Linked DNA regions of Homo sapiens: all the other regions are linked to region 4. Evidence: promoter capture Hi-C in 16 types of primary human blood cells and fetal thymus (Javierre and others, 2016). All regions are on one chromosome and are shown on one strand. Each heading gives the region's core, a stretch centred on a gene start or on the middle of the fragment in contact. The rest is flanking DNA. Distances are from core to core; before and after follow the strand shown.

Region 1 (5,373 bases), core at 2,206-4,705, 180 kb after region 4:
GGGTTCAAACAATTTTCCCACCTCAGCCTCCCAAGTAGCTAGGATTACAGGCGTGTGCCACCATGCCCAGCTAATTTTCTTTTTGTCTTTTTTAGTAGAGACGGGGTTTCACCATGTTGGCCAGGCTGGTCTCAAACTCCTAACCTCAAGTGATCCAGGTGCCTCGGCCTCCCAAAGTGCTGGGATTACTGGTGTGAGCCACTATGCCTGGCCCAGACATTTTTTTGTTTTTTTTAATGAAATGAAATTAAAAATATCAAAGAACACTGTAGTAAGGGTGTTGCTTTGTGAAACTTTTATCACACAAAATCTTTGTGTGTGCTGAGTCATCAAAATGGCAAACGTAGGCCAGACATTTGCTCACACCTGTAATCCCAACACTTTGGGAGGCCAAGGTGGAAGGATTGCTTGGGGCTAGGAGTTTGAGACCATCCTGCATGACATGGCAAGGCCCCATCTCTATAAAAAAAAAATTTTTTTTAAATAAATAAGGCAAATGTATTCATGGTGGGTGGTAGTCAAAAAAGTTTGAGATGTTGACCCAGGGAACAAGATCTAATAATCTGCCCAAACCCAACTCCTACCTCCTCTCCACGCTCTATTCCATCCCCGTTCTGGACTCACCTCTGCTCTGTCCTTTGCCTAGGTCCCCTGCCTGTGCCCTTCACCAATGGGGAGATACAGAAGGTAAGGGCGGGTCCCCTGTCTCTTTGGATTTCAATCCTTGGGGTGCATGAGACAGATCAGAAGGTGCTGTGGTTGGTAGGATAGCCATCTGACTAAGGCCAAAACCCCAGGGTCCCCAGTTCCAGCTCCTTCTTCAGCTCCAAGCTATAGAACTGCCAGAACCCTCTTGGCCTCTGCCTGGGGCCAAAGCTGTCAGGAGGGAGCGGGCTGGCTGGGCCCCTCTGCAGCCCGCCATCCTGGGTGACAAGCCCCCGCCTCCAACTCCCCACCATACAGAAGGGGCCATTCTTCCCCCCAAGAACAGAGCTTCAGTGTCTGGCCACGGGCAGCCGGGCCCCTGCTACTTCTAGTCTGGGTTGGAAGAACAAAGCCCCTCCTCCCCCCTTCCCTGGGCAGAAGGGAAAGGGGGTGAGGCCCGGGGAAGAGATGGTGGGGCTGGGCGCCAGCTGAAGCCATGGAGGAACCCAGGAAGGGGCTGGGTGCCAAGCTGACGCCCCAGCCAAAGCCTTCGCTCTGGGACAGGCCGACTCAGTCAGGCCACAGAGCAGGAACTCTGCAGGGTCTGCTTAAAGGTTCCCCTTCCCTAGGAGCTCCTGCCAGGGTACTTGGCAAGGGGGAGGGCCCTTGGACCCAGCCCTCAACCTTCTTTCACCTCATCTTTGGATCTAGAACTTTCCATCCACCTTCTTCTTTCAAGGCCCTCCTTTGCTGCTTCAGGGTTAGGGTTTCAGGATTCCTGGGGTCAAATCCTGGCAAACAGTCAGGTGGACCACATGAGATTCAGGGAGCACCACATGGGCTCCCCATGCCCCCATGTGTCCCCACATTCCAAGAAGCCCCTCCCTGGTCACTGGCCCAAAAGGCAAGCCAGTACCTAAAAGCCACATTGGAGTGGCCCAGGGAGAGGGAGCGGTTCAGCTAATCCCATGATGGTCTGTTCCCATCCCATCCCTCCAGCCTGAGCAGTAGAACCAGCCTGCCCTCTGATCCCCAAAGGAATGTAAAAAGGAGCCCCAGCAGGCTCAGGAGGTGGGAACCAGGGGTGGGTGGCCAGGGCATCAGTGCTACCTCTTCTCAGTCTGAGGCCCCTACTTCCCCAGGAGCTCCCTCCCTCCTCAGGACCCCCTCACCCCATCCTCTGACAACCCACAACCCTCTCCTCTCTGCCAGGAGAACAGTCGTGAAGCCCTGGCAGAGGCAGCCTTGGAGAGCCCCAGGCCAGCCCTGGTGAGATCCGCCTCCAGTGACACCAGCGAGGAGGTAGGCCAGCCATGCGGGGGGTGGCAACTGGGTTACAGGAAGCCGATTCCCAGGCCCCACTTGTTCCTGGCACACCAGCCTGCCTTTGAGGTCACATGCTGAGCCGCATTCTGTTCTTGTGACCTGGCTTCCCTGGGCACGGCCCCAACGGAGCCACCTCACCAAGGCTGAGGACCAGGGAGCCTAATGAGGGACTGACTCCCAACTTCCTGCCCCCACTTCTCTTTACAGCTGAATTCCCAAGACAGCCCCCCAAAACAGGACTCCACAGCGCCCTCGTCTACCTCCTCCTCCGACCCCATCCTAGACTTCAACATCTCCCTGGCCATGGCCAAAGAGAGGGCCCACCAGAAACGCAGCAGCAAACGGGCCCCGCAGATGGACTGGAGCAAGAAAAACGAACTCTTCAGCAACCTCTGAGCGCCCTGCTGCCACCCAGTGACTGGCAGGGCCGAGCCAGCATTCCACCCCACCTTTTTCCTTCTCCCCAATTACTCCCCTGAATCAATGTACAAATCAGCACCCACATCCCCTTTCTTGACAAATGATTTTTCTAGAGAACTATGTTCTTCCCTGACTTTAGGGAAGGTGAATGTGTTCCCGTCCTCCCGCAGTCAGAAAGGAGACTCTGCCTCCCTCCTCCTCACTGAGTGCCTCATCCTACCGGGTGTCCCTTTGCCACCCTGCCTGGGACATCGCTGGAACCTGCACCATGCCAGGATCATGGGACCAGGCGAGAGGGCACCCTCCCTTCCTCCCCCATGTGATAAATGGGTCCAGGGCTGATCAAAGAACTCTGACTGCAGAACTGCCGCTCTCAGTGGACAGGGCATCTGTTACCCTGAGACCTGTGGCAGACACGTCTTGTTTTCATTTGATTTTTGTTAAGAGTGCAGTATTGCAGAGTCTAGAGGAATTTTTGTTTCCTTGATTAACATGATTTTCCTGGTTGTTACATCCAGGGCATGGCAGTGGCCTCAGCCTTAAACTTTTGTTCCTACTCCCACCCTCAGCGAACTGGGCAGCACGGGGAGGGTTTGGCTACCCCTGCCCATCCCTGAGCCAGGTACCACCATTGTAAGGAAACACTTTCAGAAATTCAGCTGGTTCCTCCAAACCCTTCAGCCTCCGTGTGTTCCTTGGAAGTTTTGTCCTCTGGCCTTGGACCCCTTATAGGTAGAAATTGAGAAATGGTAAGCCAAGGTGGTCTTTGGCTGGGAGGGTGGGGTACACTGGAGGGAGGGCCATCAAGGGCTCCCTGTGACCCCAAGCCTGGGTAGCTTTAGCTAGAGGGCCTAGCTGCAGTCCTGTAGGAAGGAAGATGCATGCACCCAGCCGGGTATTCAGCTTGGTGTGGTCAGTGTGCCTGTGTGCTGGGCTGCAAGCACCGATTGTGGGCTGGGGACCCCTTGTCTAACGGGGATATTTACAAGGGGAAGTGGGAGCTCAGACCAACGTTCTCAGAGGACTCTGGGAGGTTCCTTTAATTCCAGAAGCGTGGAAAGTGTGTCCCAGGATGGAGCTGGGTTTGGAATGTGAGGACTTGGCTTTACTCTTTCTGCCTATAGCCAGTGGGGTGCAGAATTCCCAGGGGCAGGCTGGGCTGGTGCCAGATCCTCTATCTTATCTGGCCATTGTGACCTGATTGGAGGGCAAGTGTCCAGTGCCAGGGGAAAACAAACCGGTCCACTGAGCCCGGGGACATGCTGTGTGGCTAGCTGGGGTGGAAGGGACTGTTCAAGGGCAAGGTGCCCTGCCCCCAACAAAAGACCCAGGTCCCTGATACCTTTGGCACCTGAAGCCTGATCTGGAGGTCCAGGAAGGTGGCTTGCAAGAGCTAGGCTGCAGAGCCGGGAGGTTCCGGGCAGGTGCTCAGGAGGAAGGTGCCCCCAGGCTAGTCTCCACCCAACCCAAAGGGACACCTCTCAGAAAATAGGCTCCTGGGCTGAGGGGAATGAGTAAAGCAGGTAGATCTGGAATCAGGGAGTGGACAGTGTCCCCCAGGCCAGTCACTATCTGGCCATCTCCTGCTCCTTGTCAGAGGAACCATCCAAAACCCTTACCACAGCAGTGCCCTGCTCAGCTGACCTGCCCCCACCCCACCCTTGCTTCTACCCTTTGGCCCCTGACAGATTCCCCTCCACAGGGGTCGTGGAGGGCCCCTCCCTATCTCACCTGCTGGGTGGGGAAGCCCTGGGGGACCTTTGACTCTTCATTAACCTGAAGACTGGTGGAAGGAATGGGTGGCCCCAAGGGAACTCTCATTGCTGAGGTACACATGGTACGAAGGGAGCCACGGCAAGCAACGCGTTCGTTTTATAATGTTTGTTTTATACTGAGGCATGTTTTCGGTTCCAGTTGTTCACATGCAGTCTGCTGTGAGACTCCAAGATCAAGGGTGCTGGGAGGCCTTAGGCAAGTCACCTTACTTATCTAAGACTGTTTCCCCACCTGGAAGATGCCCTACAAGCCTCCTGTGGCTGTGTTTAGAAAGCATGCCCGGCCTTTCTTGACAGCCAGCCACCCCAGATGATGGCAGGGCAAGGAAGACTGTTAGGAGTCAGAGTGCTCCCCTCAGGTGGAAGGAAACTGGGCCAACTCTACTTTGTAAGCCATAGGGTGCCAGGTAGCCCGGCCACCCTGAGCCTGTGCCTCCACTGCCCCCGCGTGGCCAGTCAGGTGCAGCTGCTCCCAGAGATGGAGGGTGAGGAACAGACGTGGGAGCACCAGAGGGACAGAGCTGATGGCCTGACGCTCTCTTCAGGAGGGCACCCCCAAGGGGCCTCTGCTTCCTCAGTGCCCCCTGAGCTTTATCAGCAGAGGGGTGTTTTCCAGCCACAAGGAGCTGTATCTAACACTAATGCCTTTAAACTCAAGACTGGCTCCAGGAGAGAGGAGGACGGACACTAGGTTGAGGGGCCAGGCCACACTCACTCTGGACCACCTGTTGTTCCCGGGTCAAGTTCCCAGGGTCACACCAGCCTGCCTCTGCAGGACAAGAGGACCAAGCTGCCCTTGAGTGGACACTGTGAGGCTGGGGCTCGTGGTAGCTCTTCACATGGACCAAACGGGAAAATCAGGAAAGCTGGTAGTGCCTGGAGCTTCACTCCCAGCCAGGGCAGCACCTCTGGCCTCTAAGGAGAAAGGCCTGTCCACTCCCATCCATGTTCCAGGTCCCCCTGCACCTCCAGCTCCCACCTTCATCCCGACATCTCCCATGGATCCCTGCCCTCCATTCCAGCTTCCTAGAGTCTGGGTCTGGGTTTGGCCGGGAGGGGAGAAGGGAACTGGCCCTGGCCCTGGAGTCTGCTCAGCCACACCACTAGCTGGAGGGAGGCCACAGCAAGCCCCGCCAGAGTCTGAAGGGCCTCGAAAGGTGATTCCCAGCCTGGGCCAGGAGCACTCTCCCAGTGCAGGGCTCTGGTC
Region 2 (5,953 bases), core at 2,352-4,851, 200 kb before region 4:
TCTTTCCTTCCCTTCTTTTTCTTTTTTTCTTTCTTTCTTTCCTCCTCTCTTCCTTCCTTAATTCCTTTCTTTCTTTGTTTCTTTCTTTCTCTCCTTCCTTCCTTTCTCTCTCTCCTCTCATTTTCTTCCTTCCTTCCTCTTTCTTTTTCTTTCTCTTCCTTTCCTTCTCTCTTCCTTCCTTCTTTCATTCCTTTCTTTCTTTCTCCCCTTCCTTTCTTCCTTCCTTCCTTTCTTCTCTCCTTATTTTCTTTGCTTTTTTTTTTTTGTTTTTTTTCTTTTTCTCCTTATTTTCTTCCCTCCTCTTTCTTTCTTTCTCTTCCTTTCTTTCTGTTTTTATTTTTATTTTTATTTTTTGAGCTAGGGTCTCACTTTGTCACCCAGGCTGGATGGAGCACAGTGACACGACCACAGCTCACTGCAGCCTCCACATCCCACCTCAGCCTCCTGAATAGCTGGGACTCCAGGCACACGCCCCCGCACCTGGCGAATTTTTAAATTTTGGTAGCAACTTGGGGTCTCACTATGTTGCCCAGGCTGGCCTCGAACTCTTGGGCTCCCAAAGTGCTGGGATTCCAGGTGAGAGACACCGCACTGGCCACCAGGCTGTATTTCTTTTGGGTTCAGAGTGCTCCGCACAGTCTTGAGCCCCCTCTTCAGGATGTACGGTCTCCATGGGGCTCTGAGGGTGTTTGATGAAATGTACAGGAAGCCATTGGCTTGGGCTGAGCTCCTGCACGAGGCCCAGCAGACCAAACCGAAATGGAATCATTCATGCTGAAGTTCTGCGTCACCCAGCTGACACTAAGTTGTTTATCTGACATTCTGAGACATCAGGAGAGTGAGGGATAATAGCCAGATCCCCAAACAGGCCAGTTTTAGCCAGCATGATAAGGAAGTCCCCTCTGCTTTAATCTTACAAGGAAAATAACTTTGAAATCTGATGTTTGTTCTGTTTCTGCTTTCAAAGCCAACCTCTACTGCTCAGCTCAATCCGAACACTCATTCTATAGTGTAAGGTGAGATATTGCCCAATTCTAGAATCCAAGTAAAAGCCAATTAAGATCTTTAAATTTGTTGTAATTTTGTCTTTTGACAAGAGAAAGGAGCTTTCAGGGGGAGGGGCCATTTCCTCTCTGTCTCTAGATCTCCTGTGTATATGGGAAGAGCTGGGACCAGGCCCAGCAATTACCTCACCATGGTTGGGTGCAACCAAGTGGGGCAACTCTTTGGCCAGAAAGCAAAAGTCTTTTTAGCTTCAATGTAGGCCATTCTGGGTCCCAGACCCACAGCTTTGGACATTATGGGAATCAGAATTCTTAGATGGCTTCACAATCTCTGTCCCTGGGTGTGTTACTCCCTTGATGATATTATATTATATGGCAGAAGGGATCTGCAGTGTAATTAACATTACCAATCAGTTGATCTCCAAGTAGGTCAGTTATCTGAGTGGGCTGGATCTAATCCCACGAGCTTATTAAAAGCAGAGAGTTTCTCCAATAGCAGAAGGGAAGTCAGAGAGATTCTAAGCACAAGAAGAATGGGATGCACGTTCACTGGCTTTAAAGATGCAGGAAGCATTACATGGAAAGGACTTGTGAACAGCCCCAAGGAGCTCAGAGAGACGCCCAGCCAACGGCCAGCAAGAAAACAGGAACCTCAGTCCTGCAACCACAAGGAAGTGGGTTCTGTCAACAACCTAAGTGAACCTGGAAGTCGATTCCTCCCTAGAGCCTCTGGATGAGAGCCCAGGCTGACCAACACCTTGATTTTGGCTTCCTGACATCCTAAGCAGAGATCCAGTGAAGCCTGCCCCAGATGGCTAACCTACAGAACCGTGAGCAAATAAATGGCTGCTAAATTTGTGGCAATTTGTTATGCAGAAATAATACCTAATACAGGTGCCTGCACAGTGAAGGTTCCAGGGCATGGATGTTGATCCCAGGGGAGGAGGCAAATGAGGCCTTCTGATTTCTCCCACAGCCTTGAAATTGCAGCCTCACCCTGCACTCTGGCTGTGCCCCTCCTCCACAGAGAACCGTCCACATCTTTGCTCGCACGGTTTCTGCCAGAGGCCCAAGCTTCTGTGCTCAGGCTGGGAAGTTTGGGCATGAACTATGTACAGATAAACCAATTGCAGGGGAATCGCACAGCTTCTTATTATCATTATCCAGGTTTCTTATTAGTTTTCTTCTCTGTTAATTTTCCCCTGTATTTCTGCCCAGTTCTGATGCTGTTGGATCTTCCAATCCTTGGCAAAAGGAAAATCCTTTTTAGCAAGTTACTCAGGCAGGACTCCCTAATTAAAGACCCAGAGTGGCCAGGCGCGGTGGCTCGTGCGTGTAATCCCAGCATTTTGGGATGCCAAGGCGGGTGGATAGCTTGAGCCTAGGAGTTTGAGACGAACCTGGGCAACATAGGGAGACCCTGTCTCTACAAAATATAAAAATAAATTAGCTGGTCCTGGTGGCATGCACCTGTAGTCCCAGCTCTTGGGAGGCTGAGGTGGAAGGGTGGCTTGAGCACAAGAAGTTGAGGCTACAGTGCACTATGATCATGCCACTGCACTCCCGCCTGGGTGACAGAGTGAGACCCTGTCTCAAAAACAGAAACTCAAAATGACTTGCTCTCTCTCCCGGTCTTGTGACCTAAATGGCTTGATTTAGGACGTGTGGCAGAGATGGTTAGCTGTCTACCAAAATCTGCACACCCCTTTCATAGCACAGTATTGTCACTAAGAGCAGAGACTACATTTCCCAGCTGCCTTTGCAACTGGGTGTGTCCACGTGACAAATTCCTACCAGTAGAATGTGAGCAGAAAAGCTGTGCAGCCCCTCTGAGCCAAGGCATCAGAAGCAGGTGTGCTTCCTCCATCACTTCCCTCCTCTTTGCCAGCTGGATATAGGTACCAACGAGACCCTGGGGAAGGGGAGAGCCCTGAGATGGAAGGAGCCTGGGTCCCTGAATCACCACGTGGAGGAAAGCCACTGACCAATCAGGAACGCTCGTCTTGGTCTGTTATGTGACTAAGAAATAAATTCCTAAGGTATTTGAGCTATTATACATTTGGGAGTCTATCTGTGACTGCTTTTTAGCTTACCCTTCATAATACACATCCCTCTTTGGCCCCCAGTGTAAATCAAGTTGCACAAGGTGCTGACTAAACTCCCAGGATGAAAACCTTCAAATATCCCTGTACCTCACTTTCCTCGGCTGGCTCCCATCCCTGTCTTGGTTCACACTGCTTGCTCCAAAGTCTGGCTGACTCAGCTGGCCTGGGCCATCATCCATCTGCTGTCAAAGAGTGCCTGGCTCACAGCAAAAAGAACATTTATTCCCCCAAAACATAGGGTTCTTTTTTTCAGCAAAGGTGGTGCAGCAATATATTTGGAGACGCAGACTGCGAGTCAGCACATGCTCCCGGTTCCCTTGGGACACAGTCAGGGAGCTCATGTCTTCAGCCCCAGCTCCCCCAGCAAGAGCCTCCAGTGGTCGGAGGAGAGGAGAGAAGAGCAGTGGAGAGGGGGAGGAAAGCAGAAAGAGGTGACAATTCTCTCAGAAAGCAATTAAGCATTTCGTGGTGGCCCCAGGGACAACCTCAACTTTTTGTGTTTTTCCCCCAGAGAGACTGAAGAACTGGGGGGAGGAGAGCATCCCTAGCTACAGTTATTGAAAACTCTGCTTGGTAATGTGGCATTGAGAGACTCTGAGAAGCTGGCTTCAGGAAGGTGGCCCCACACTGCCTGCCCACCACCTGGGATGCCACCTGCCGCAACGGTGTTGGTCTCTGGTCAGGGCTGGGGTAAAGATCAGCAGTGGCTCATCTTCCCTCTGACACAGCAGCATGGGACACCTGGATGGAACTGAAATGGGGTCCCAGATACAGCAAACCTCTCTCCCTGTCCACTTCTGAAGTCCAGCTCGGGATTGCCGGCCCCAGCAGAGCAGGCAGGGGAGCTTTGACTGTGGATGGTGTTTGAGCCTAGACTAGGCCCCAGGGTCTTCAATGAAGCTCACAGATGGAAAAGCCCAGCAACCAGGGGTCAGAGGCCCTGGAAGTTAGAAAATTACAAGTCCCCATCCTTCAAGGAGCTCCAGGATGACTCTGCCTCAGCAATTTCCAGTGCAAATTTACTTTTTGTTTGAGTCAGGAAATAACAGGCTGCAGACTCCCTAGGGGCCCAGGAATCCAGCCACCAGCTTCTCCTGGCTTCTCTCATCCTTCCGTGAGCAAGACTCAGCCAGACGTACAGGGTGGCCCCGAGCTTAAATTACAACCACCTGACCAGAGCTGCCCCGCAGATGCCCAGACCCTGCTTAGAGAGGGTCCCTGTGGAGAGAGGGGCTTCCCCAGGCCTCTGGCTGGTCGCATGCGTGGCCTGAATTCTCCATGCACAGGCAAGAGGCTGTCTCTACTTCCCACCCTAGGCAACTCTTAGCACTAACCCTGAAGTGACGATGAGCCACGGAGCCAGGGTGGAAGCTACACAGTGCGTCTCACGTGACTTCCAGTGAGAGCTGTTCCCAAGTTTACCATCCCTCGGCGGTGGCTCACCACCCTCTCTGCCCAAAGTCCTCTCAATAGCCTAAGTCTCTTCCCTCCACTCAGCCTCATTGCTCTCATTTTGTCACTTAGAGCTTAGTGACATTTTGCTTTCTTCCAAATCCTCCTTCTTGCAGTCTAGCTGGGTCCTTTCATGCCTAGTTTACAAAGATGTCTGGCCTGATCCCTATCTGCCAGCCCCTATCCCTCCCAGGGGGACCAGGAAGCCTGGGTTTGACAGGTGCAATGCACAGGTGCCGGGCGCCCACTGGGAGTGCAGGAGGCCAAGGTCTTCCCAGGACTGGCAGCTCAGATGGCCCAGGCAGAAATAACCTGAGCCTGCTGCCCTTTCCTTCTTGGGAGTGACTCAGCGAGAAGCCGGAAGATAGAAACACAAATCTGGTCCTGGATCTTGCAGAGCCAGTCACAGGCAAGGCCACAGCCTTAAGGCTGTGTACGGAGAGGACCTGGAGCCAGCCATAGGGCTGGACGCTGAAAAGACGCTCAACCTCATTTAGCAGGAGACAAGTGCAAATGAAAACTATACCCAGACCCCATTTTCCACAGAGCAGATTGGCAGAGATGCAAGCTTTCAGGACACACTCACTTGGCAAGAAGGGGAGGCCATTCTCCCGCTTTGCTAGCAGGCTGTAAAATGATACAATCTCCTCGGAAGGCAAGTTGGCAATATCTATCCACTAAGTGCACAAATTCTTTGACCCAGCGATTCTACCTGTACAAACGGAACACCTAGCTATGCGTGCACATTTATGACATGACCCAGGCAGCATTGTTTGTAATAATGACAAAGGATTGGAGGCTCCTACATAGGTGACTGGTTCCACACTTGCGGTGTCCCCATGCGATGGATCACAGTAGGCAGAACAGATAATTGGAACCATTGATGGACGAGTATGGAACCGTGTCCTAGATACATTGGAAAGAGGAAAAACAAAACAAAAGAAATTGAGGAGCAGAACGGGCTGTGGGGCTGGCTGGTTTCAATTCTCGATGAATGGATGAAATGGCACACTCCCATTTGGGTAAAGGAGGGTAACAGAGAAGCAATGTCTATGCTGGTCTAATGTGTGTGCTAAGGAATATCTCCGGATGGATACCCCAGATTGGTTTCATTAGCTATACAGAGGCAAGCATATACCTTTTTGTAACTTGAGCATTTTAAAATATGTTAGCTGGGCCGGGTGGCACGTGCCTGTAGTCCCAGCTACTTGGAAGGCTGAGGCAGAAGAATCACTCGAAGCCTGGAATTCAAGGCTACAGTGAGCCATGATGGGGTCTATGAATAGCCACTGCATTCCAGCCTAGGCAACACAGTGAGACCCTCATCTCTAAAAACAATAAAAATTCAAAAAATTTTTTTGAACTAGGCAAACATGTTACTTATTTTAAAAA
Region 3 (5,562 bases), core at 549-3,048, 250 kb before region 4:
ACAGGTTGGGAGGTGGGGACAGGGACGCTGGCATCTCAGCTTCGTAGGAGTTGGAGCGGGGAGGATGTCGCAGCGAGGTGGAGGGGATGAGTGGAGACCCCCGGGTTAAGGAAGTGAGGAACGTTCCAGAGGAGCAGGGTTGGGGGGAATGGGGTAGGGCATCCCGGGAAGAGCCAAGGAGCTCTGGTGGGAAGGGGAAGGAGGATGGGGGTTTCTCCAGGGAAGGAGACTGTGGCTGCCCTAGGGGAGGGATCCAGGAAGACAATGAATGGGCCCAAAGGAGTAGTTGGAGGCAGGGAGAGACAAGCATCCCCTGACTGGGAGGACTTGACACATCCTGGGAGAGGACCCAGCCAGTCACATCACAAAGAGGAGAAGGTCCCCGTCACCCATTTCTGGCAGCATCTTTGTCCCCTCTCATGAAGCTTGGCTTTGTGGCAGCACCTTTGTCCCCTCCCATGAAGTCCTGCTTGCCGAGCTCTGCAGCCTTGGTGGCAGCACCACCCAGCTGGTGTAGGTCTGGGCTCCCTCGTGCAGGCAATCTTGGGGGTTTTATGGTCACCTGAGCAATGAGGCTGGGTGATGTCACCATTGCTGGCACTGGAACAAATGCAAGGGAAATGACAGTGCCAGAAAGAATGAGCAGTCTTTTGTCTTTGAACATCTGGGGTCGGATCCGAACAGGGCAGGTTCAAGAAACTTACCCCTCCCTTCCAGTAAAGCCTGGGGGGCTTCCTGGAAGGCACACAGGGGAGAGGCCTGGGAGGAGAGAGAGTGCCCTTCAGCCACTGGAGCGAGCTGGTCCCGGCTTCTCCAGGCTGGGCAGAGCCACCTCCTAAGGGGAGCTGCAGGCAGGGCCTCCTCGGCTTTGACATGCTCCTGCAGGCCCAAGAAAAGGAGAAGAACCTGCCCTCCACCACCATGCACATGTGCACGCACTTTCCTCCTTGCTCCCTGGAGCACCCTCTGGAGCACCAGTGGTCCTGCCGGCTCCCAGCTGAGCTGCCTGGAAAGCAACCTCCCTCCCATCTCATCCATGGCACTGTGTGTCAGGCCGTGCCACGGCACCTGCCCTGAGGAGAACCGGCCATCTCAGCCCTCCTCAGAAGCTGTCAGCCCATCACTCTTGTTCAGAGGCCTCTGGGTCTCTTAACCTTCTCCAATGCCCTCAGTGGCCTTGGCAGGAGGACGGCCACAAGGTCCTTGGGGGTTTATTACCCAGGATCACCAGGTCATTCATTGGTGGGGTGGCTGGGGAGAAACCCAGTCCCCTGCCTCATCAGGCCACACGTGTGCCCTTTGCTCGCCCCCTAGACACAGAATCGTGGGCAGCGTATGAAGGAGGGGGCCCACATCAACCGCTCACTGCTGGCACTGGGCAACTGCATCAACGCCCTGAGCGACAAGGGTAGCAACAAGTACATCAACTATCGCGACAGCAAGCTCACCCGGCTCCTGAAGGTACCAGCCACAGCTGGGCCTGGGCACTGGGCACCAAGGGTGAGGCTGCCAGATTAAACAAATGAAAATACAGGGCACCCAGCTAAATTCCAACCTCAGGATACACAGCAAAATTTATTTTAGCGTAAATATGTCCCATGAAATATTTGGGATATTCTTATGCTAAAACAAAGTAATTGCATATCTGAAATTCAAATTTAACTGGGTATCCTGTATTTTATCTGACGACCCTAACCAAAGGCTGGGCAATGGGAAGGAAAAGGAGCACGTGATACCCCCACCCAGGGCTGTGGGTCAGAGCCGTCTAGATTTGGGGGTGCAGGTGGGCAGTCAGCCTCATGGCCCCACAGGTCAGCTGTTTGGGGGTGGCCTCCTTTGTGCAGGGGTGTCCTTGGCCTTAAATTATAGCAGCATCACTGAGCGCCCACTCCTGGCTGGTCTCTTGAATTCAGTACTTCACTCTATTAGCTCCTTAGATCTCGTCAACAACTCTATGAGTTTGAGGGATTACATTTGCAGATGAGGAAACTGAGGCACAACTCAGTTAGGTAATGTTCCTAAGGGCTCACACTAGTAAGTGCTGAAAGTAGGATCCAGTCAGAGGCCTCCCTGATCTAATATCAGAGTCACCGCTTACTTAACATTGCCAGCAGCTGCCGTCATGACTGCACCTAGAAGCCGGGGAGGTGGGGACAATTGCAAAAGGACTGCCCCCTTAAAAAGCAAGGAAAGCCGGGTGTGGTGGCTCACGCCTGGAATCCCAGCACTTTGGGAGGCCGAGGCAGGTGGATCACTTAAGGTCAGGAGTTCAAGACAAGCCTGGCCACCATGGTGAAACCCCATCTCTACTAAAAATACAAAAATTGCCCAGGCATGGTGGCAGACGCCTATAGTCCCAGCTACTCGAGAGGCTGAGGCACGAGAATTGCTTGGACCTGGGAGGTGGAGGTTGCAGTGAGCTGAGACAGCGCCACTGCACTCCAGCCTGGATGACAGATCGAGACCCTGTCTCAAAAAAAAAAAAAAAAGAACTAAAGAGGTGAATGAGCTTTATTAAGGTTACACAGCTGGTAATTGCTGGAGCAGGGCTTTCTTCCTCCCAAGCCTCACACCATATGACGCTCAGCAGCCGGGTCCCTTAAGTGTAAAGAGACAGAGAGATTGCACTCGCCAGGGAGGGCATCGTGAACAGCCTGGCAGGAGGAAGGCCTGAGGAGGCAGTCCCCACTGACCACAGCCACCTCCCATCCAGGACTCTCTGGGAGGAAACAGCCGCACAGTGATGATCGCTCACATCAGTCCTGCGAGCAGTGCCTTCGAGGAGTCCCGGAACACCCTGACCTACGCCGGCCGGGCCAAGAACATTAAGACTAGGGTGAGGGCCCCTGGACCGTCCACCAGGACACACCTTCCTGGGCTGAGATTCAAGCCCCCGGGCTGATCCCTGCCACCCCACTGCACTCTCTGGAACCAGCCACTGCTGCACTGGCCTCATTCCCTAGTTGATCGTCACCTGTACACTTTCCCTGCACCTCCAAACCCTGCTCCTCTGCCGGGAAGCCGACAGCTCCCAAGGGTCCCCGCTTCCTCCAGTCCCAGGACTGTGCTCCCCCTGCCTCATCCCCTCTTCTCTTCCCTTCCTCGTCTTCAGATGCTCATTTAGACCTTTGCATTTCCAAAGCACCTCTTCATGATGGTCATCACAGGAGGCAAGCTTCATTGAGCACTTGCTCTGAGCTGTTTCACATGCTACCTCCTTTGATCCTCAAAAAACAGCAGTATTATTGCGGTTCCCATGTACAGATTAGGACAGCAAGGCTTAAGGAAGTTAAGTGACTTCCCAGCTGGCCAGTGATGGCGCTGAGGATGGAAATGAGATCTGCCCCGTTTCCAAGTCCGTGTCCTCACCTGTCTGTAAGCATGTCGGAACCCTTGCCATCCGCTTAGAAATCCATTTCCACCTGTTCGTGTGTGGAGGAGTGGGAATGGATTCATGTATGATAGCATGTAGGGAACATTCTCCCAACACCTAACACTTGCCAGCTGCTGCCCTGAGGGCTGTAAGTTTTATTCCAACCCCTCAATGGGGGACGGGAGACACATTCTTGAAACAGCTCATTGATGGTTCAGAATATTCCTAATAGCAGGTAAATGATGCCAATGGTAGGTGCTGGGGCAAGACAGGAACAGGAGGTGGGGGTGGCCTGGTGGGGTCCAGTGGAACTCTCTGGAGACTGTGAGTGGGACCCTGAAGGCTGGGAGGACATTCCAGAAAGGTGGGAGCAGGGAGAGCACAGGTTCCAAAGGCAGGAAGGGGATGGCGTCTGTGGTGGGTATGGGGAGAGCAGGACAGGTCTTCAACTGGAGTGGGATGTTCATGCAGGAGCGGTGAGCCCAGAGAAAATCAGAGAGATGGGGGTGGCCCTTCAACAACGGGTGGAGGAATGAGGACGTTCCCCGCAGGCATTAGGAAGCCACTGAAGGTTGATGAGATCTAGCAGTGAGTGTGACAGGAGGTTGTGGAAGTGGAGGAAAGGAGGCCATTACTGTCACCCAGAAAGACTGGGGGAGGCAGGGGGAAGAAAGGCCCTGCAGGCAGGCCTCGGTGAGTGCACCTGGGGTGACTGCATCCCCTCCGCTCCATACGTGTTCCCTGCAGGTGAAGCAGAACCTCCTGAACGTCTCCTACCACATCGCCCAGTACACCAGCATCATCGCTGACCTGCGGGGCGAGATCCAGCGACTCAAGCGCAAGATTGATGAGCAGACTGGGCGGGGCCAGGCCCGGGGCCGGCAGGATCGGGGTGACATCCGCCACATCCAAGGTGCGCCTGTGGGTCTGTGTGAGTGGCAGCCCCCTCCGGCCAGCCTCACGTTGCTCTGGGATCAGGCCATGTTGTGTTCAAATCCAGAATCGGGCTCTTTCTGGCTGGGTGGTTGAGCTAGGCACTCACCAGCTCTGAGCCTCCTAGCATTCAGCTGTTAAATGGGGTTGTGATCTCTGCTTCAGACAGTTACCAGAGATCACAAGCCGATTTCCCAACCCCACCTTGGAAGAGTAGGTGGGATCCCACGAGGGAGAGGCACGTGAGCAATGAGCTGCGCAGGGCGCACACTAAGGGCTGTGGCGTAGGGCTGCGAGGTCATGCCTGCACCCCCGGAATGGGCTCCGTTTCCTTGTAGACCTGCATATTTGCTATGATGGTTTTCCAACAGACAGTAAAGCTTTTTTTAAAAAAAAATTTACTAATATAAAGAGAGAGGCAGACAGTAAAGATTTTTTTTTTTTTTTGAGACAGAGTCTTGCTCTGTTGCCCAGGCTGGAGTGCAGTGGCATGATCTAGGCTTACTGCAACCTCTGCCTCCCGGGTTCAAGCGATTCTTCTGCCTCAGCCTCCCAAGTAGCTGGGATTACAGGTGCCCGCCACCACACCTGGCTAATTTTTGTATTTTTAGTAGAGACGAGGTTTCACCATGTTGGCCAGGCTGGTCTCGAACTCCCGACCTCAGGTGATCTGCCTGCCTAGGCCTCCCAAAGTGCTGGGATTACAGGTGTAAGCTACTGTGCCTGGCCACAGACGGTAGTTTCTAGGGGCACCTTTTTATAGTTGGCACAGAGGTGCTGTAAGGGTTAGCAGGAGCCCAGTTCATACCAAGGAGCTGGGAATTGCTTTTGGGCAACAGCTTGAAGACTCAATGTGGGAGTGGGGTCTGGGAGGATGTAGTAATCTAGGGGGTCTTCCTGGAGGAAGCAGTTGGACAGGAAGTGGGAGCACTGAGTTGGGAAGAAAAGGAGGGGAGGGGCCCAGGTGGGCCCAGGCTTTGCTAGCTGAACTTGCCGCCTCCTCTACCTTGCCCACCCTCACCCATCGGCAGCTGAGGTCCAGCTGCACAGCGGGCAGGGTGAGAAGGCTGGCATGGGACAGCTTCGGGAGCAGCTCGCCAGCGCCTTCCAGGAGCAGATGGATGTGCGGAGGCGCCTGCTGGAGCTGGAGAACCGCGCCATGGAGGTCCAGATTGACACCTCCCGACACCTGCTCACCATCGCCGGGTAAGCCCCCCTCCCAGGACCCTCCAGGCCCCACCCCTGTGCCTGGGACA
Region 4 (5,708 bases), core at 3,090-5,589:
GTCCTTCAGGGTCCTATGAGACCTGTCTTAGTCTACTTTTTCTTGCTTATAACAGAATATCTGGAATTGAGTCATTTATAAGGAAAAGGAATTTGTTTCTTACAGTTATGGAGGCTAAGATGTCCGAGGTTGAGGAGCCACATCTTGTGAGGGCCTTCTTGATGGCAGGGACTCTCTGCAGAGTCCCAAGGTGGCTCCAGGCACCTCGTGGTGGCGGAACTGAGTATGCTAAGTCAGGTCTGTCTGCCTTTTCTTATAAAGCAGTTCCATTCCCATGATAACCCATTCATCCTTTAATCCACGAATGGATTAATTCATTCATGGGAACTCTGCCCCCATGACCCAGTCACCTTTTAAAGGCCTTGTCTCTCAATACTGCCACATTGGGGATTAAGTTTCAACACGAGTTTTGGAGGGACAAATATTCAAACCATAGCAAGACCTCAGGACTCAGACACCCTCTGTCACAGGTCACTCTGAGTGACAGTTAATTTACTCAAGTGGGACCTCAGGGACCAGGACAGAGCAGGACCTGAGAGACACACACGTATATACACTCCCTCTTACCTGGGTTAATGGTCACTTGAACTTTGACCCCAAGATCAATTCCAGGTCTCTCAGTCCCACACCAATAACTGTCAGCATCATCTCTTTTGAGATTCTCCATGGTCACGGTGAACACGTGGTTTTTCTGATTGTCCCTGATGGAAACTCGATTCTTCTTTACCTCCTGCTCTGATCCATTTGTTTTAACAAGGATGTTACAGTAATTCCAATCAGCTCCTTGACACCGCCACTTCAAGTAGGTCTCCCAGCCTGAGCCATAAGCACACTGCACAGTCAATGAGCCCTGCTCCGAGCCATTCACTGTTGTTGGACCAGTGATTTTAGCGGCAATGGAGTAACCTGGAAAACGCAAATTCATGTGTCGTCACCTCCCACCCCAAGGGCAGGGCCACAGCCTCGTGCATTGGGAGTAGCAGCCAAATCCAACTGCCTTATAACAGTCAAGGAAGCAATACATTTTCCTCAAGACAAATCTTTGTCCTTCAAAATTCCACTGGGTCAAAGTCACCAGGAAAATCACTGAAGAGCACAACTGCAGATCCCCAAAGAAACACAAATGTTGGCATTGAGCAATAATAGCTTCCTGCAGTTCACCCCTCTCTCTTTCCCTATGGCCAGCAAATCTTTATATTCCAAGGAATGCTCTTTGGCAACCATCTTTGTGTTATACTGGTCTGATGGGGAGGAAATGGCAGAAGGCCCTTTTCCAGAAGAATGATTGCTGCCTTGATGCTTGGCTGTTCCTAGTGGTTCTAATGGTTTCTGGTGGCTCTGCTGTAGTTAATCACCCTGAATGAATCCCTTTGAAATCAACCAAATAGTGATGCCAACTGGTCTCTATCTGCTATGGGATCCACATCACACAGATCTCCATTTCGCCATACAGTGTTATAAATTCCACTTCCAAAATTCCTAGGAAAAGCTAACTTTTAAGATAAACACAAGTAAAGGTTAGGTATAAACAGAGCAGCACCCATTCAACACCCTTCTGCATCTTATAAGTTCTTCTCTAAACATAATGGACATGATTCAAGTCAGTTAAAGGGTGAGGAACGGGCATACCTAATTAGCTCCACTTTTCAAACAATTTGATCCAGGACAAGACTAGTCTCCATGAACTTGTCAGCCTAATCTTTCACTTGAAAACAATTCAAAACAGTGGAAATACCTTAAGTGAGAGCTTTGCCAGAAATTCTTTAAATTCAACTGACCTAAAGGGAGACCCATCTAAAGAAACGATTGATTTTGATGATTTATGCACTGGCAATAAACCATAGCTGTGATTAGTGCAGCATAAACTTGAGATGGAACTAGAAGCACATTGGAGCACTTGAAGAAGCCCTGGGGGCAATTCCTGTGGCAGGAGAGAGGTTGTCTCTGAAACGCCAAGAGACACCCAAGGTCGTGGGTAAGAGCTCAGGCTGTGCCAGAGTGCTTGGGTTTGAATCCTGGCTCTACCACTGATAAGTTTTGTGAACCTGGGCAAATTAACCTCTCTGTGTGATACGGTTTGTCTGTGTCCTCACCCAAATCTCATCTTGAATTGTAGCTCCCATAATTTCCACATGTTGTGGGGGGCACCAGTTGGGAGTTAATTGAATCATGGGGCGGTTTCCCCCACATTGTTCTCGTGGTAGTGAATAAGTCTCATGAGAGCTGATGGTTTTATAATGGGAAACCTCTTTCACTTGGCTCTCATTCTCTCTCTTGCCTGCTGCCATATAATACATGCCTTTCACCTTCCACCATGATTGTGAGGCCTCCCCAGTCATGTGGAACTGTGAGTCCATTAAACCTCTTTTTCTGTGTAATTTACTCAGTCTCGGGTATGTCCTTATCAGCAGCGTGAAAATGGACTAATACACTGTGACTTCGTTTTCTATAAGTGGGAATAGTAATGGCATCTACCTCTATGTTACTATATTATGTTTGTTATTATTATTATTATTATTATTACCCCTGGATGAATGAAAACTTTAGACTTCATTGGAATGTCTTGAAAAACCAGGGTCACCATGGTGGGAGCGGAAGACAATTTCACCATAAACAGGCAGAGCTCCACAACCCAAGGAATTCCTGGAACAGAAATTGGACTCCATGCCCAAATCTGCTTTCTATGGCATCTGAAGGGAACTAAGAAACTACACACGACCTCCTGGGGAAAGATGGGTATAGGGGCTTCATTTGTTCACTCTGAAAAAAGTTCTACATCAGAATGGAAAGACAACAATTAAGGTAAATATTTAAAGAAAAACTACATCTGGAAGTTATTTATAAGAAATAAGAGCTGGGTGTGGTAGCTCACACTTGTAATATAACAACTTTGGGAGGCTGAGGCAGGAGAATCGCGTGAGCCCTGGAGCTTGAGAGCAGCCCTGGCAACATAGCGAGACTAAATAAATAAATAAATATTAGCTGGGTGTCGCACCACATGCCTGTAGTCCCAGCTACTCACTCAGGAGGCTGAGGTGGGAGGATGGCTTGAGCCTGGGAGGTCAAGGCTGCAGTGAACCCTGATCCCAGCACTGTACTCCAGATTGGGTGACAGAGCACACCCTGTCTCAGAAGGAAGGAAAGGAAGGAGAATATATCTGAAAATTGTTTACAGAATATAAATTTGAAGCCAGGCATGGTGGCTCACACCTATAATCCCAGCACTTTGGGAGGCCAAAGTGGGAGGATCACTTGAGCCCAGGAGTTTGAGACCAGCCTGGGCATGAAAGTGAGTCCTCATCTCTACAAAAAAAAAAAAAATAAAAATAATAATAATAATAATAATAATCTATTTTAAAAGAAAATAAATTTGAGATTGGAAGGAAAAATTTTCTTACAAAGCTTGATCTGAGTATAGATAATATGAGAAGCACATAGATTTGTTACATTTTAACAGAAATGAAAACACTACGTATCAAAATTTGTTGACATGACAGCCAAAGCTGTACTCAAATATAAATCCTTGGGAAAAAGGTTTGATGCTTCCTCAAAAAGTTAAACATAGAATTAACATAGGATTCAGCCATTTTACCCCTAGATATATACCCAAGAGAACTGAAAACATATCTCCATACAAAACTGTGCTATGAAAGTTCATAACATTATTACTAACAATTTTTAAAAGGTAGAAACAACCCTAAGGTTCATTGACAAATGACTGGAGAAACCAAATGTGGTATATCCACTGTGAAATACTATGCAGCCATGAAAAAGAATGAAGCTTTGATTTGTGCTACAACACAAAGTAACCTTGAAACATCATGCTAAGTGAAAGAAGCACTCCAGCCTGGGTGACAGAGCGAGACACCAGCTCAAAAAAAAAAAAAAAAAAAAGTTCTTCAAGAATGGACTCACTCATTAGTTCCTTCCTTCATTGATATCTGTTCATTCATCTGTTTATATGGAACAGTCAGGGTTGAGAACCACTGTTCCAACAAGAAGCTATACTTGTTTTGTTTTGTGTGTGTTTGTTTCTGCAGCATCTAACACAGAACCTGTCAGATAACAAAAACTTGATTGCTATTTAATGAATATGGGCATGGATGGATGAATTGGCGCTGTCATTTTCCCTGACATGTCTCCTTCCTGAGAACAGAGCGTCTCTGTCTCCAAGCCAGCCGCTGTCATTCCAGTGCCTTAAAGCTCCAGCCACACTCACCTGGGAGGATGAGAAGCAGCAGAGATGGGGACAGCCACATGGTCCTGTCTCCTCTCCTCTCCTTGGTGATCACAGGTGTCTGGTGCCCTTCAGGGACTTGAATCCAAGCTCGGAAGTCAACACCGCAAACCTACTCGAATCTCCTTCAAGTCTCTTGCTCACTTCCTGTTACATCTGTAGCTACTTCTCTTTTTACATATTAGGAGAAAAGAGGTGTCATTCTTTGAAAAGACTAAGGTACAGTGTATGTTGCAAGGTGTGCCCAAACTTTTGTGCATGTGGAAAAGAAAATGTGTCCGGGACTGGTCAGGTTTGCACGGGAGTGCACGTAGGAGCCAAGGAGCAGGAGGAGCCAGGAGGAACCCAAGCATTGAGGAGCTGCGGGATCTACTGCCTGGAGGAGAGGACGGACAAGGCCAGCCATGAGGAGTGCAGGGAGAGGAGCACTTTGGGAAGACCACAGTGCACAGGACTCACACCCAGCCTTGCTGGAGAAAGCCCATGCCCCAGGCTTCTTCCAGGCAGCCCCACTGTAAGACATCTCATTGCCTCTTCCTGCCCTGGGCTGTCTGACCCACTGCCCCTTCCCCCAGGAACACTTCCACTGGGATCATGAGTCACTCTGAAGCCACTCTGAAATCACTCTGAAGCCAAAGCTGGGCTCAGTGGGGAAGGTCAGGAATGGAGAAATTGCCTTTTCTCGTTAGCCTCCTCTTGCCCTGATTTCATCCTCCCTATCCCTGCACACTTTCCCCTGGCTGCTGTTGTAATCTACTTGTTCTGCTGACGCCCGAACTGACTTCTTTCCCGGTCTCTCCCCACTTTCTTTAGATGGTCCCTTCCCTCTTTCTCTCCCTTTCCCTCCTGAATCGATTCATTTTTTCTCTCCTGTTTTATATTTTCCATATCTGTGGGCTTTGTTCTACATTTGGGGAGCTTTTTATATTGTTTATTTCATGCTTGTACTTTCCCTTCCAATCCTTGGATCAAATATTGATTTTAGAGACTGTATTTTTATTTCGAAAAGTTTTTTTGGTTCTTTGATTACTGATGTTTTCAAACTCTCTTCTGTTCCTTGAACTATATCCCTCCACTCAGTGGTCACATCTTTGTTTTGTTGTCTGCTTCTTCTATATTATGAGCCTTCCTCAAGTGTCTGCTGATTCTTGGTTATCCAATCATAGTTGAGAACAAGATAAAGTGTAGCTAACTGAGACCTCAGAGTATGTAGGAGTAAATAGTATATAAAATAGCTCTGGTGGCTCATGCCTGTAATCCAGCACTTTGGGAGGCCAAGGCGGACAGACCACCTGAGGTCAGGAGTTCGAAACCAGCCTGGCCAACATGGAGAAACCCCATCTCTACTAAAAATACAAAAATTAGCCAGGTGGTGGCACACGCCTGTAATCCCAGCTACTCAGGAGGCTGAGGCAGGAGAATCGCCTGAACCTGGGAGGTGGAGATTGCAGTGAGCCCAGATTGCACCACT
Region 5 (5,674 bases), core at 1,405-3,904, 150 kb before region 4:
TCAGGAGATTGAGACCATCCTAGCTAACACGGTGAAACCCCGTCTCTACTAAAAATAGAAAAAATTAGCCGGGCGTGGTGGCGGGCGCCTGTAGTCCCAGCTACTCGGGAGGCTGAGGCAGGAGAATGGCATGAACCTGGGAGGCGGAGCTTGCAGTGAGCCGAGATCACGCCACTGCGCTCCAGCCTGGGCGACAGAGCGAGACTCCGTCTCAAAAAAAGAAAAAAAAAAGGCATTGGCTGAATGTGCACTCCCGGCATCAGAGGGCTGGAGCTGTGCTCTTCTGAGCTTCTCTTTAACTCTCTGAGGGTCCCTGTCCTAGGCAGTGGATGAGAGCCACGCCCAGAAAGCCCAGGTTTCCCACCTGAGTCCATGTATTTCTGTCTTCCCACCTGCCCTTCCATTTCTGGGGGAACCAGAGAAATAAGATATTTCAGGATGGGACCAGGTTGTTTCCTCTGAGGCTGTTAAGTTACTCAGCAACTTACTAAAAGCAGCAGCCTGGCTGCTGGGCAGCAGCATGGTACCTGGATGCGGTGAGGGGCAGGTACAGGCTCCTCTCTCATTCCTTGAAAGTTTCTATATTGAGGGGGTTGGCAGGAGAAGCAAGACTTGAAGGGTCAGGTGCAGAAGGAAGTTGCTGGTCACCAACCACAAAATCAGGGGGAAACTGGAGGTGGGGGCTTAGGGACAGAGAGCTGTGAAGCTTTCCTGACCCTAGCCCAAGTGCCTGTGGGCTTCTTGGAGCCAGCAGGGTACAGGCAAGTATTTCTAGGGCAAGATGGATCAAGAAGAATGAGTGACATTGGTCCCTGGCTTGGTTTTCTGTAATGACATGCCTGTTAGATTTGAACTTGTAGTATGGGCTTTAGTATCCTTTTCCCCCACCTCCGCCATCCAACCAGTCCTTCGATTGTTTTTTGGAAAGGATCTTTCAGAGCTGGCCATTATGGCTTTACCTTTGGCCTTGACCTTTAAACTGGAATGAATGTGCCCCCCAACAAATCGATTGCCTGTGCATTTTTGCCAGACTCTTTTCCTAAAAGCGCAACCCTGGCTATGCCCCCATGATGCTAAAAGCAGCCTTCAGTGGCTGCCTGTTGCCTTTAGGATAATGCCCCCAGCCCCACCCCTGTAGCATTTCCAATGTGTCAGCCAGCAGCTGCAGCCTCCCTTTGCAGACTCAGCTGATACTTGGCAAACTGAATTCTTTTTTAACTTGCTCTGGACTTGGGCTCAAAGGGCTTTGATTCACACCATCTTTTCTGCCTTGCACGTCCCTCTCCTTGTTCCCTTCACCTGCTCAGTCCTTCCTCACATTCTTCAGGGCTTAGCTTTTGGGTGTCCCTGTCTCTTGGCAGTGTCTGGGACCTGGTATGTTTTTTTATTAGATTCTGAGTAAAACTCTGCGGAACAGTCTTTCTCTACTCTGCCTGTTTCTCTTCTGTGTTCCTGTAGCCCCTGTCTCTCTCCTGCAGGTAAATTCCGTTGTGTGGCCCTTAATCATATTCTTCCTTGTGTAATTTTTGTGAGTACCTACCTTATCTCTCTTGATAGATTTTAAATGCCATCAAGTCAGGGACTACGTTTGTTCATGTTTGTATTTTCCACAGCTCTGGGAACAACAGGGCCTTTCCTTCCCAGGCGCACAGTCAATATTTGCTGATTTGGAGTAATTGCCTGTTCTAAACTGGGCCCTGGCCGAGGGAGGTGGGGTGAAAAGCCCTTGAAAGTGCAGGTGTCCGGAGTCTAAGTGGCAGTTCTGAGGGTTCTCTTCCCTACGTCCAGCTTCAAGCCCAAGTTCTGGCTGGTTTGGCTGTGGAGCCCAAGATGAAGTTGAACATTTAGGATCCCACAGCTTGTTGTTATCCATAAATTATCTCCCAGGAGTGGGTCCATATTACGCCTTCCCTTTTTTGTTGTTGTTGTTGTTGTCGTTGTTGTTTTTGGTTTTTGAGATGGAGTCTCGCTCCGTCACCCAGGCTGGAGTGCAGTGGCGCAATCTCGGCTCACTGCAATCTTCTGCCTCCCAGGTTCAAGGGATTCTTCTGCCTCAGCCTCCTGAGTAGCTGGGATTACAGGCGCACGCCACCACACCTGGCTAATTTTTGTATTTTTAGTAGAGACGTGGTTTCAGCATGTTGGTCAGGCTGGTCTGGAACTCCTGACCTCGTGATCTGCCCGCCAAAAGTGCTGGGATTACAGCATGAGCCACCGCACCCAGCCTACTCCTTACCTCTTAGCCCTCTCTTACTCCTCTTTCCAGCACTTGTAAATAAAATGCAGTTGGTGCTTTATTGATTTACAAAGTCCCCTACAGAAGCTTATTTAAGTCCTGCATTAGAAGTAAAGAGAAACTAGCCATTAGAACGCCAGTTATTTAGGAAAACAACAGTACATTTACATGAGATAGTTAATTTTAAGAGTTAATCTTAAGCAAGCTTAATTGAAAGATGAGGTAGCTGAGATGGCTAAGACGACCTAAATATTTTCAAGTGGCATGGAGACTATTTGAAGGGACTTTGAAAATGGATCCTCTTTATTGTGTCCATTTCACTTAATTTTATGAGTTGCATTGCCCCTGATTTAGTAAGTGTTCTTTCACATAACAATTATGGACAGAATTTTTTTTTTTTTTTGCTTCTGTGTTGAAAAGAGGGACAATTTCTATCAACTGTGGGATTTAGGGCTTTTGTTTGCCTATTAGAAATTAAGTAGCCAGGAATGGTAGAAAACAGTAAGGAGGTAAACCATGTATAAACAACCTCACAATCCCCCTAAAAAAGGAAAAAGGGTGGCAGCCTCACAGAAGAGAGTTAGATAATGCCATTCCCCTGCCAGCCACTAGTGGTCACTGTCAGACCAGGAAAGCTTGGTTGCTGTTTTCCCAGAGAGTTCCTGATGAAGCTGGGTTACAACTAGTTATTTGAACACGTGGGGTGACTTAAATGTGGACTACCTGCATTCATAGAATTTTGAAACGTATAACCTGTTTCTTTAAGCATTTAAATTTTCTTTTTCTTTTCTTTTCTTTTCTTTCTTTTTTTTGGAAACAGTCTCGCTCTGTTGCCCAGGCTGCAGTGCAGTGGTGCAATCGCAGCTCACTGCAGCCTCGATCCCCTGGGCTCAGATGATCCTCTAACCTCAGCCTCCCAAGTAGCTCAGACTACAGGTGCATGCCACCACACTCTCTGCTAATTCATATATATATATATATATATATATATATATATATATATATATATATTTGTTGTTGTTGTTGTTGTTTGTTTTCATACAGAGTCTCACTCTATTGATCAGGTTGGAGTGCAGTGGCGCAGTCTTGGCTCACTGCAACTTCCACCTCCCGGGCTCAAGCAATTCTCCTGCCTCAGCCTCCTGAATAGCTGGTATTATAGGCGTGCACCTCCACGCCCGGCTAATTTTTGTATTTTTAGTAGAGACGGGGTTTCACCATTTTGGCCGGGCTGGTCTCGAACTCCTGACCTCAAGTGATCCACCAGTCTTGGCCTCCCAAAGTGCTGGGATTACAGGCGTGAGCCACTGCACCCAGCTGCTAATTTTTGTGTTTTTTATAGAGACGGGGTTTCACCATGTTGCCCAGGCTGGTCTCAAACTCCTGGACTCTAGCAATCTGTTCACCTTGACCTCCCAAAGTGCTGGGATTATAGGCATGAACCACCGTGCCCAGCAGCATTTAAATTTTCAGTGTTAGGTTTCCTCCAAGTACATTTAAAACTTTTGATTGGAAAAAAACTCATTGATTTGGTCTTTAATATTTCTTAACCTGTTAAATCCATTACCTCCACTTCACGTGGGAAAATCCAATTGGTATTGGGAGCAGGAGTTTGGTTTTCTTCTCTGGCACAGATCTGTGGCATTTGGTAGAGCGGCAGTCAGTAGATGGAGTGAAAATTACCTTGCTGGTGTTAATAAAAGCTAATTTTCTTGCCTTCTAGCTACAACGTCTTAAAGTCTTCTATTAAAGATTAATTCCTTTGGGTTTTGCATTGCCCTTGCCTGGTTCTTACTTTTAAAATGTTAATGCTCCGAAGGAAAATTTTTGCATTAAGTCATTAACTCCTTAGCTGGGGACTTCGTTTATTTCACCCTTGACTTCCGCTTCCGAGCTAGGCAAAAAATGGAGGATTCTGAACTGGAGACTTGGCACTAAAAGTGGGAAAATGACTGTCTCTTCATTTTTCCTGGCTGTTGGTTATGCCTGCTGCAGCTGCTTGTTAAGTCTATTGAATGAATGAATGAACACATAGCTGACTGGCTGTGGATTTAGGCCTCACAGGAATGGAGTTTAGGGGCATAGCAGCTGACCTCCTGAAGCCTGAAAGTCCCAGGGCAGAGAGGAGGTACTGGGTGGGTGGTATGCTTGGTCTTGACTTGTTCACAAGCCCCTTCATCCTCCACCGTGGCCGCCAGAGCTCAGGGAATATCTGAACCCAGGTTATGTTTGGTGGAAGGGAGGGAACTGAAAATTCAATGACAGGTTTTTCTTTTGCCATGGCTAGGAATAGGGCTGACAAATGGGCTTCATCTCATTTGCCTCTGTGGCCAGTTGAAATGCCTCTCAGGGGTTCTATGTTAAGAAGGATTCTGAGGTCCAGAGAGCCTCACGGTCAGCAGCTAGCACTATCTGCCTGGGTTTAGGTTGGGGGAAGCAGCACCATGTATATTGGAGTCTGATCTTGGAGGACTAATTTTGTCCCTTTTCCTTCTGTCTCTAGGGACCCAACCAGAGCCTGGCCTGGGAGCCAGGATGGCCATCCACAAAGCCTTGGTGATGTGCCTGGGACTGCCTCTCTTCCTGTTCCCAGGGGCCTGGGCCCAGGGCCATGTCCCACCCGGCTGCAGCCAAGGCCTCAACCCCCTGTACTACAACCTGTGTGACCGCTCTGGGGCGTGGGGCATCGTCCTGGAGGCCGTGGCTGGGGCGGGCATTGTCACCACGTTTGTGCTCACCATCATCCTGGTGGCCAGCCTCCCCTTTGTGCAGGACACCAAGAAACGGAGCCTGCTGGGGACCCAGGTATTCTTCCTTCTGGGGACCCTGGGCCTCTTCTGCCTCGTGTTTGCCTGTGTGGTGAAGCCCGACTTCTCCACCTGTGCCTCTCGGCGCTTCCTCTTTGGGGTTCTGTTCGCCATCTGCTTCTCTTGTCTGGCGGCTCACGTCTTTGCCCTCAACTTCCTGGCCCGGAAGAACCACGGGCCCCGGGGCTGGGTGATCTTCACTGTGGCTCTGCTGCTGACCCTGGTAGAGGTCATCATCAATACAGAGTGGCTGATCATCACCCTGGTTCGGGGCAGTGGCGAGGGCGGCCCTCAGGGCAACAGCAGCGCAGGCTGGGCCGTGGCCTCCCCCTGTGCCATCGCCAACATGGACTTTGTCATGGCACTCATCTACGTCATGCTGCTGCTGCTGGGTGCCTTCCTGGGGGCCTGGCCCGCCCTGTGTGGCCGCTACAAGCGCTGGCGTAAGCATGGGGTCTTTGTGCTCCTCACCACAGCCACCTCCGTTGCCATATGGGTGGTGTGGATCGTCATGTATACTTACGGCAACAAGCAGCACAACAGTCCCACCTGGGATGACCCCACGCTGGCCATCGCCCTCGCCGCCAATGCCTGGGCCTTCGTCCTCTTCTACGTCATCCCCGAGGTCTCC

The links. Contacts are between HindIII fragments. The CHiCAGO score rates a contact against its expected background, and 5 or more counts as called.
Region 1: a fragment that was not itself captured here is called in contact with the fragment with the promoter of CD300LD in region 4 in 1 of 17 cell types (monocytes); the score reaches 6.1 in monocytes.
Region 2: a contact is called between a fragment that was not itself captured here and the fragment with the promoter of CD300LD in region 4, in 4 of 17 cell types (monocytes, M2 macrophages, M1 macrophages and 1 more). The highest score is 10.0, in monocytes.
Region 3: a fragment that was not itself captured here is called in contact with the fragment with the promoter of CD300LD in region 4 in 1 of 17 cell types (M0 macrophages); the score reaches 5.4 in M0 macrophages.
Region 5: a fragment that was not itself captured here is called in contact with the fragment with the promoter of CD300LD in region 4 in 4 of 17 cell types (monocytes, M2 macrophages, megakaryocytes and 1 more); the score reaches 6.8 in monocytes.

What each region holds. Positions count from the first base shown.
Region 1 is chr17:74,766,290-74,771,662 of GRCh38, forward strand. It overlaps NHERF1 (NHERF family PDZ scaffold protein 1), which reads left to right. Exons shown (of 6, transcript NM_004252.5): 4 at 647-687; 5 at 1,858-1,947; 6 at 2,179-3,064. The coding sequence ends at 2,367. It overlaps NAT9 (N-acetyltransferase 9), which reads right to left. Exons shown (of 7, transcript NM_015654.5): 7 at 4,240-5,373. Among named protein-coding and RNA genes, the nearest start is that of NAT9, 7.4 kb to the right of the region's middle. RefSeq lists a silencer at 4,616-4,715. The HindIII fragment of the contact is 7,456 bases long and covers 1-5,373 here.
Region 2 is chr17:74,390,276-74,396,228 of GRCh38, forward strand. No RefSeq gene overlaps it. Among named protein-coding and RNA genes, the nearest start is that of GPR142, 26 kb to the left of the region's middle. RefSeq lists enhancers at 3,868-4,368, 4,369-4,869. The HindIII fragment of the contact is 3,051 bases long and covers 2,077-5,127 here.
Region 3 is chr17:74,345,064-74,350,625 of GRCh38, forward strand. It overlaps KIF19 (kinesin family member 19), which reads left to right. Exons shown (of 20, transcript NM_153209.4): 8 at 1,315-1,461; 9 at 2,714-2,836; 10 at 4,121-4,286; 11 at 5,338-5,512. Among named protein-coding and RNA genes, the nearest start is that of BTBD17, 14 kb to the right of the region's middle. The HindIII fragment of the contact is 2,750 bases long and covers 424-3,173 here.
Region 4 is chr17:74,587,944-74,593,651 of GRCh38, forward strand. It overlaps CD300LD (CD300 molecule like family member d), which reads right to left and starts at 4,340. Exons shown (of 4, transcript NM_001115152.2): 1 at 4,220-4,340; 2 at 568-906. The coding sequence starts at 4,259. CD300LD-AS1 (CD300LD antisense RNA 1) reads left to right here. Exons shown (of 3, transcript NR_171003.1): 2 at 2,576-2,802; 3 at 4,041-5,708. RefSeq lists an enhancer at 4,244-4,373. The HindIII fragment of the contact is 5,067 bases long and covers 3,780-5,708 here.
Region 5 is chr17:74,435,006-74,440,679 of GRCh38, forward strand. It overlaps GPRC5C (G protein-coupled receptor class C group 5 member C), which reads left to right. Exons shown (of 4, transcript NM_022036.4): 2 at 4,740-5,674. The coding sequence starts at 4,772. Among named protein-coding and RNA genes, the nearest start is that of GPRC5C, 5.8 kb to the left of the region's middle. The HindIII fragment of the contact is 430 bases long and covers 2,440-2,869 here.